3 separate regions of the Homo sapiens genome follow, and regions 1 and 3 are each linked to region 2. The links are contacts of gene promoters, found by promoter capture Hi-C in blood cells and fetal thymus (Javierre and others, 2016). All regions are on one chromosome and are shown on one strand. The core of a region is centred on a gene start or on the middle of the fragment in contact, and the rest is flanking DNA. Distances in the headings are between cores, read along the strand shown. Region 1 holds the start of DNAI4 (dynein axonemal intermediate chain 4). Region 2 holds the start of ANKRD13C (ankyrin repeat domain 13C). Region 3 overlaps TYW3 (tRNA-yW synthesizing protein 3 homolog).

Region 1 (2,700 bases), core at 78-2,577, 3.4 Mb after region 2:
GAAGGGGAGAGATGGCTTGTGGAGGCTGCACTTACAGCCGCTGCCGCTGCTGCCGCCGCCACCTTCGCTGCTGCCGCCACCGCCTGAAGAAGCCCCATCCATCCGCCTGCAGCCGGGAGACTCAGAGCCTGGGAGGGGCCTGAGGCCCGGGCCGCCCGCCTCCTTCTTCCAGTCGTCGTCCGGAGCTTCCTCCAGCTCCACCAACCCTCTGCCCTCCCCTCCGCCTCCGCCCTCCTCCTCGGCCTCGTGCCGCCAGCCAACCGCGCGGCCGCTTGTTGAGCCAGGGCTCCACCGTCGCCATGACGCCCGGCAAACATTCCGGAGCCTCGGCCCGAGCCGCTAACGGAGGAGCTTGGGGGTACAGGGACTTCAGAGGCGGCCAAAAAAAGGGGTGGTGCACCACTCCCCAGCTGGTCGCCACCATGCCAGTCTCTCCGGCAGGCAGTCACAAGCAGCAGAACTTCGGGTTGTAAGTTCCGGCGCTAAAAACCGTAGTCCATCCCCCTGGGACCCGGAGGGAGCCCTTCTATTAATAGATACCATTTCTGGATTTGGAAAGGGGCCCTACCCTAACTGGGTTCAGTCTGTAGACCTTGAAGCTCCTAGGCCACAATGTCTCCTTTATCGACCTACCGCAGTCTTTAAAAGAATCTCTACTGGGCTGGGCGCGGTGGCTCACACCTGTAATCCCGGCACTTTGGGAGGCCGAGTGGGGTGGATCACCTGAGGTCAGAAGTTAGCGTCCAGGCTGGCCAACATGGTGAAACCCCGTCTGTACTAAAAATACAAAAAGTTAGCCGGACGTGGTGGCACATGCCTGTAATCCCAGCTACTTGGGAGGCTGAGGCAGGAGAATCCCTTGAACCCGGAAGGCGGAGGTTGCAGTAAGCCGAGATCGTGCCGTTGCACTCGAGCCTGAGCAACAGAGCGAGACTCTGTCTAAAAAATAAGATAAAATAAATCTCTATTGCTGTGCTTGCTGTGTGAGAAAAGACCTGGTTTAGAACCATCGTTCTAGCACTTCTAGTTTGTTAAGGCCTGCAGTCTCTCAAGCTTGATGCTTTCATGCTGTGCCCAGACGTTCAAGAGCCTCAGCTTCTGTGAGCCACCAGGCCGAACATTGCTGTGCTCTGTAGTAGAGGTATTTTATTGTCGTCTCGTCAATACCATCTTACTTTAAAACTAATTCCTGCTTCCAACATTCTGTTGTTATGCAGCAGTTGAACAAGACTGTAGAAAAGCACACAGCTGTGTGGACTTGTCTTACTTTAAATGGTTCCTTAGCGCTGCCCGTAATGCTGCCCACTAAGTTCCCCCAAAATTCCCTAAGTAATTTGTTTTCTCTTCCCCTCTCCAATCTCCTCCACCTCAGCTAATCTTTCTTCAGCGGAACTTGTTGAGAGTTCTTGGGAGAGAACCTTGCATTCTCTCTTGAATATGGTACTCACGCTTTTGTCCATCCTACCACTCCATCAAAACAGCTTCTATGAAAGCCAGCAATAGCCATGCAACCAAATACAATGGCTGATCCACAGTTTCATTCTTTTTGAATGAAGCAGTGTCGGTCGGGTTTATCGCTTCTCGATCTTTGAAAAGCTTTATTTGGGTTCTGAGAAACCACTCTTCCTAGTTCTTGTCTTGGTTCATGGTTTCACCTTTCCCAGATCCTTTGCTGGTATCTGTTCCTCACTACCATAACTAAATACAGTCATGCATCGATGGTGATACCTTCTGAGAAATACCTTGTTAGCCAATTTCAGCATTTTGCAAATATCTTCTAGTGTACTTACACAAACGTAGATGTATGGGCTACTATACACCTAGGCTACAATTGTATAGTAGACTGTACACCTAAGCTATAGTAGGCTATACATCTAGGTTTGTGTAAGTACACTAAATGGTGTTTGCATAATGATGAAAATGCATTTGTTGCTTCTAGGCTACCAACCTGCATAGCATGTTACTGTACTGAATACTGTAGGCAATTGTAACACAATGCTAAGTATTTGTGTATGTAAACATAGAAAAGGTAATGTCTTGTGCTTGAATGTTGTGACAACTACAACGTTGTTAGACAATAGGAATTTTTCAGCTCTGCTACCAGATCACCATTGTATATGTGATTCATTGTTGATGATCCAGGACTGTATTGGTATTGCTGGGTTAGTCCATAAACCTCTTCACTCTGATGTCTTTAATATCACCTATAATGATGATTCACAAATGTTAATCTCTGGCTAAGACCTCTCCCAAGAAAACAGATTTTAAGAAAAAACACCTGCACTTATAAGTTAATAAACATCTCAAACCAAATATATAATATTTTCTGTCTTTTCTAATTAACTGCAATCTTTCTCATTTTAGTAAATGGCAAATTCCACTCTTTCACTTACTCAGGGGAAAAACCTTGGGATTACCCTTGACTTCTATCTTATACCTCACTCTATAAGCAAATTTTACCATTTCTACCTGCCAAATAAATCCAGACTACCACTCCCATGTAAATCACTGTGTTACATTGTGATACCCACCTAAATAGTCTCCTTGCCAACACCCTCCAGGTAGTAATCAATGTGGTTCTGCTCAAAACATTTCTCAAGTTTTTTCCATTTCACTCAGTAAAACTCTTTACAGGGCCCCACAGGATCTCACTATAGACTCTTCCTCTTGCCTAATTACATCCCACGTTGTCCCACAACA
Region 2 (2,719 bases), core at 62-2,561:
GACTGGGGAGGATTAAGAGAGGCCCATCGAGTTGTTTGTTTGCGGAGATGAGTTAGCAGTAGTATAAACTTTAAGAAAGAAGAGATCTGGCCGGGCGCAGTGGCTCATGCCTGTAATCCCAGCACTTTGGGAGGCTGAGGCTGGCGGATCACTGAGGTCAGGGGTTCAAGACCAGCCTGGCCAACACGGTGAAACCCCGTCTCTACTAAAAATACAACAATTAGCTTGGTGTGGTGGCGCAGGCCTATAATCCCAGCTACTCTGGAGGCTGAGGCAGGAGAATCGCTTGGACCTGGGAGGTGGAGGTCGCAGTGAGCCGAGATTGCACCACTGCACTCTAGCCTGGACTACAGAGACTCTGTCAAAAAAACAAAAAAACAAAAAAAAGAGAGAGAGATCTGAAGTATTTGCTCTCAGAACATAGGGGGACTTTGGAGAGTTAAATGGGTGAAGATCTTTAGGATGTTTTGCTAAGCCCCCTCCTTACGTCCTCAGTGGCCAGCTTTAGTTACTTTGTTAAAGTTTTATGGTTGGCAGATTTACGTTTCTTCAGAGTTTGACACTAGGTTGAGGTTGGCCATGAACTAATACAATTATATTTCAGTTACACGATTCTTTGCCCTCCTTGAGTGTCCCCACCCTCATATATGTTAACTCTGACATCTGCCCGAAATTCATTCATCTAATAAATATTTGAGTGGCCTCCCCTCTTTCCGATTGCTGGACAGCCCATCATTTTCCAAAGTCAGCACCTAAACTCTTCTATGACTTTCCTGACAACTCAACACTAAAATTCGTCCCTCCCTTTTTTGTGTGCAACCCACCTCCCCGCCTCCGCTTTTAATTGTTTGGCCTTCATTCCTCTTCTACAGTGCTCCCTGCAATCAGTACTGGTGCTGTACATATTTGCTAGCTTCGTACATACGGCACGAAGTAGATGCTCAGTAAATGTTGGTTGACTGAGTATCCTCTGCATCTCGGTGACATCACATCCTGCGTGCCGTGGCGTCATTCTGCATTCCTCTGCGGGAGGCTCAGATCCGGAGGGTTTAAGTGGTTGTTTATAACATGCACCGAACATATCCAACGGAGGCTGTGGTTTCCGACCGCCCACAAAAAGCGCGGTTGGCGGGAGTGCGGGTTCGGGGTCGGCTGGCAGCTGGGAGACTCCAGCTCTGGGCGGAAACACACTGCCTCGGAGGCGCCGGCGCCTAGTGATTCTGGGAATAGAAGGTGCGAGGGAGGGAGCGGGTGGCTCACTTATCGCGGTGTTTTCTCTCTCTTCACTCCTGGGGGAGCTCTCGCGAGAGGAGCAAGAGGAAGATGGCCGTGCCCTGTTTTTCGGTGTAAGGCAGCGACGGCGGCTGCGACGGCGAGACTGAGATCCTGGTGTCGTGGGCACCTGAGTTCTAGCTTCCCCCAGCGAGCGCGCGTCCCTTCGTGCCTAGGCGAGAGCCGGCTCTTCCCCGGGAGATGCGTTTGTCCCAGGCTCGGGGGCTCAGTGGGAGTTCATGCTGCGCTGGAGGCTCTTGGCCACCGCTCTAATCGCCTTGTGCCGCCGCAGCGCCAGCTCCGTCGCCAGCGGTGAGCCTCCCGATTCCCCCCCTTGCCCCTGGCGGCGGCGATGACCGGGGAGAAGATCCGCTCACTGCGGAGGGACCACAAGCCCAGCAAAGAAGAAGGGGACCTGCTGGAGCCCGGGGATGAGGAAGCGGCGGCTGCCCTCGGCGGTACCTTTACCAGAAGCAGGATTGGCAAGGGCGGCAAAGCTTGTCATAAGATCTTCAGTAACCATCACCACCGGCTACAGCTGAAGGCAGCTCCGGCCTCCTCCAATCCCCCCGGCGCCCCGGCTCTGCCGCTGCACAATTCCTCCGTGACTGCCAACTCCCAGTCCCCGGCCCTTCTGGCCGGCACCAACCCCGTTGCTGTCGTCGCGGATGGAGGCAGTTGCCCCGCACACTACCCGGTGCACGAGTGCGTCTTCAAGGGGGATGTGAGGAGACTCTCCTCTCTCATCCGCACGCACAATATCGGGCAGAAAGATAATCACGGTGAGGAGTGCTAGCCCCTCTCCACCTCTCTCCTTCCCCGAGCCTAGGGTGTGCCTCCCCAGGCTTCTGGAATCCTAGGCCCCCTCCAGCAGACTCTTCTTTTTGCCCATCATCCGGGCCGTTCGGTAAATCATGATCGACTCAGTAATAGCGTGCCAGTGGTCAAGGGGTTGGTTCTTGTGGGTGCAAAGGAATGTATCCTCCTTGCCCACTTCAAAGTTTGTCGTGAGAAGCTGTTTTGTTTGAGACAGGCCTTCGATTTGCTGATTCTGGACTGTCAGAAATTTTAGGTTGCCTCCCACCCAACATGGTTTTCTCCCTTTGTTTATGGAGCTATATATCTTTATTTCTCTCTCTTCCCCCTACCTTGGCATTTTAAATTTTGAACGCATAAATTGCCCTCCTCCCTTCATTGCTCACATACAGATCCCATCTTGACTGCAACTGGTTGTGATTTTGCCTGCCACCAGGTTGTTTCTTTTTTGTCTGCTTTCAGTAAACTTAGAATGTTAGATTTCTGAAAGCCACACAGTAGAAATTTGTTGGTATTTGATACGTAGAACAGTTAAAGTGACTTCTCAACAGCCGATTTTTGTTTGAGTAGAGATTTGATTTTTTGCTTGTTTTAAGTAGATAATTGCTAATAGTAATGTCTCATCTTGATG
Region 3 (2,700 bases), core at 30-2,529, 4.4 Mb before region 2:
GCGAAGGTCTGCAGCTTCACTCCTGAAGTCAGCAAGACCACGAACCCACTGGAAGGAAGAAACTCCGGACACATCTGAACATCTGAAGGAACAAACTCCGGACATACCATCTTTAAGAACTGTCACACTCACTGCGAGGGTCCACGGCTTCATTCTTGAAGTCAGCGAGACCAATAACCCACTGGAAGGAACCAATTCTGGACACACTTCAACTTCAGCACACCCCATCTGGATAAAGGCGACTACCATACAGCTAGGGGCTCCAGCCAGACCTAAGTAGTTATCCTTGATTCCTCTTTCTCCTCCTCCCTCTGGCTGTCCTTCCCCAGACAACCTTACAATTCTGTTGATTCAAATGCTGAAATACATATTGAATCTATTCCTTTCTCACCTGCTTTGGTGCTATCACCTTACACCAACCTATCACCACAAACTACTCCTAACTCGTATCTTTTCACTTACTGCACTCCTTTCTCTATGCTGAAGCAGAACTGAGTTTTTCAGAACAAAAACCTAGAAAGCCACTCTTTGCTTAAAACTGTCCCTTCAATAACTTTTCCCTGAACTCAGAAAGAAATTCAAACTCTTTAATCTGGTCTACAAAGCCTTAAATGACCTGGCCCCAGCCTCCTTCTGGCACCTTCTTTCCACTCTCTAGACCCACTGAAACTTTGTATATACTTTTCCATCTTCATGGAATGTTCATTTCCCAGCTACATGCCTAGCTCTTTCTGTTCCTTTAAGTCTTAGCTTAAAGAAAGCTTTTCAGAGAAGCCTATCTTCAAGTGAGCTGCTTTTTGCACTGTTCTCTATTACCAGGTTGTTTTTTCCTTCGGTAGAACATTTTGCAACTTGCAGTTTGTTTTTTGTTTTTTTGCCAGTTCACTTGTTTGTTTTTGCTGTCTCCTAACTTTGGAAGAGGAACCAAGACAGTCTTTAATCTTGTTCATCACTGTGCCCCTAGTACTTGACACACTGAGACTCAATACATTATTGTTGCTTAAAATGCAATTCAGTTTTATATATAAATATATAAAAGGTATAAAAAGGAGAATCAAGACTAAACAGATGTTTACCTCATGCATGCTCATTTAAATGGGAAAAATGAAATATTCTTTAAAACTCTTAATTTTACATGTAGTTCCACAGTATTTTTTCTTAAAGCTTGGCAAACAAAAACAAACTATAGAATGCTGAAGTAAAATTTATAAATAAAAACGTTAAGAAAGAAAACAGGAAGCATAACCTGGGACTTATATTTTCCTAGCAATGATTAGCTACTCTTTTTTTCTAATATTAAAAATTAATAGATTGAGCAGACCAATAAATAATATATACATAACTAGTTGAATAAGGTAATATCTCATTGATATTTATAGCAGGTTAAAAGCTTAAAATTACATCTACCCACATATCTATAAATTCAAGTACAATTACAACAAAATTTTACCAGAATCTGTGCATCCTGCAATTGTCGACACTGCACATGAAGAACAAATGGTTCAAATTTCAAAGTGGCATCACCATTTGCTTTCTTCAGAGCTACAATCTAAATAAATGAACAGTGGTATCAGATGCAAGTATATGGCCTGTCCTTTGGCGACCCTTTACCCCATACATAACTTCAATTTCTCTTAGAAATTTTCAGAATCACTCAGCATATTTTTTCTGCAGTAACTTTTCCCTCTGCTTTCTTGGTCCTTTTTCACCAAAAATTTATTTGCTTATTTTCTTAAAATTTCTAGTTCTCCCGTAAATCTTCTATACCATTCTTTCCACCTATTAGTGTGCTTTGAAGAAGTAAACTACTACTTTATTTAATTCCATAACGGATTTTTCATTAGGAAATGTAGTATACAAAAACTGTATTAGGATTGTTTAAATTTTTTGTTAGATTGAGATAGAGACAAATGTAATGTGAGAGAAGGGTCCAAACAAAGCCTAACTGCCACCCATGTTCCCAAGAAGCATCCTGTACCAAGCACCAGTGCTTACCAGCAGCACTAGTAAGCTCACAAATAGCAGTGCATGCAAAGAGCTCAGAGCACAGCCAGTGAGTTCCTGTTCCCTCTGTAACAGGCACAGTTGTTGTAACAATTGCAACTTGCAGTTTTTTTGTTTGTTTTTTTTTCCCTGTTCACTTGTTTGTTTTTGCTATCTCCTAACTTTGGGAGAGGAACCTTGGAACTGCTCAGCTACATGAGAACCAATGGCCCCTGAGCACGTTCCTAGCTTTCTGTATTTCAGACCCTATGGGGCAGTGTTCAGGGTCTGGGAGCTACTGCAGCACAAAGTGGGGTACATGCCATCACTCTGCCCTGATCAGCTGTGGAACCAATCTGCTAGCCATGGGGACTGACACATTGCAAAGGGCTAGATCTTGTGTAGTCTCTTCCCTCCTGCTATAAGCAAATGTTACAACACTTGAGCCTAGTATGCGTGTTTTTTGTTAGTGACCTTGAGTCAGGTACTAGTCTCTTCCCTAGGTAGCACTTGCCTGCCTTTTAACCTTGGCTGCACCCATGTTACAGTGTATCCTGCGGCGTAGTCTGACCACCTAGTGAAACATGTAATATTGTGTCTGAGCTAGAATTTATACAAGACAGTTATTATTTCTGTCTGCCCAGCATCCCCGGGCAACATCGTCCTGCCTTCACACCATTTGATTTCTGGTGGGGCTGTCAATCATTACCCTGTCAC

The links. The method cuts DNA at HindIII sites, captures the fragments that hold promoters and counts their contacts. A CHiCAGO score of 5 or more calls a contact.
Region 1: a fragment that was not itself captured here is called in contact with the fragment with the promoter of ANKRD13C in region 2 in 1 of 17 cell types (total B cells); the score reaches 5.3 in total B cells.
Region 3: a fragment that was not itself captured here is called in contact with the fragment with the promoter of ANKRD13C in region 2 in 2 of 17 cell types (total B cells and total CD8 T cells); the score reaches 8.9 in total B cells.

Annotation. Positions count from the first base shown.
Region 1 is chr1:66,922,431-66,925,130 of GRCh38, reverse strand. It overlaps DNAI4 (dynein axonemal intermediate chain 4), which reads left to right and starts at 275. Exons shown (of 17, transcript NM_024763.5): 1 at 275-469. The coding sequence starts at 300. It overlaps MIER1 (MIER1 transcriptional regulator), which reads right to left and starts at 141. Exons shown (of 14, transcript NM_001077700.3): 1 at 36-141. The coding sequence starts at 102. RefSeq lists enhancers at 1-122, 413-572 and a silencer at 153-272. The HindIII fragment of the contact is 543 bases long and covers 1,056-1,598 here.
Region 2 is chr1:70,353,314-70,356,032 of GRCh38, reverse strand. ANKRD13C (ankyrin repeat domain 13C) reads left to right here and starts at 1,311. Exons shown (of 13, transcript NM_030816.5): 1 at 1,311-2,054. The coding sequence starts at 1,625. ANKRD13C-DT (ANKRD13C divergent transcript) reads right to left here and starts at 1,222. Exons shown (of 4, transcript NR_168352.1): 1 at 825-1,222. RefSeq lists enhancers at 932-991, 1,092-1,151, 1,202-1,391, 1,422-1,481, 609-1,526 and 3 more. The HindIII fragment of the contact is 4,699 bases long and covers 1-1,771 here.
Region 3 is chr1:74,737,539-74,740,238 of GRCh38, reverse strand. It overlaps TYW3 (tRNA-yW synthesizing protein 3 homolog), which reads right to left. Exons shown (of 6, transcript NM_138467.3): 3 at 1,451-1,549. Among named protein-coding and RNA genes, the nearest start is that of TYW3, 5.7 kb to the right of the region's middle. The HindIII fragment of the contact is 226 bases long and covers 1,167-1,392 here.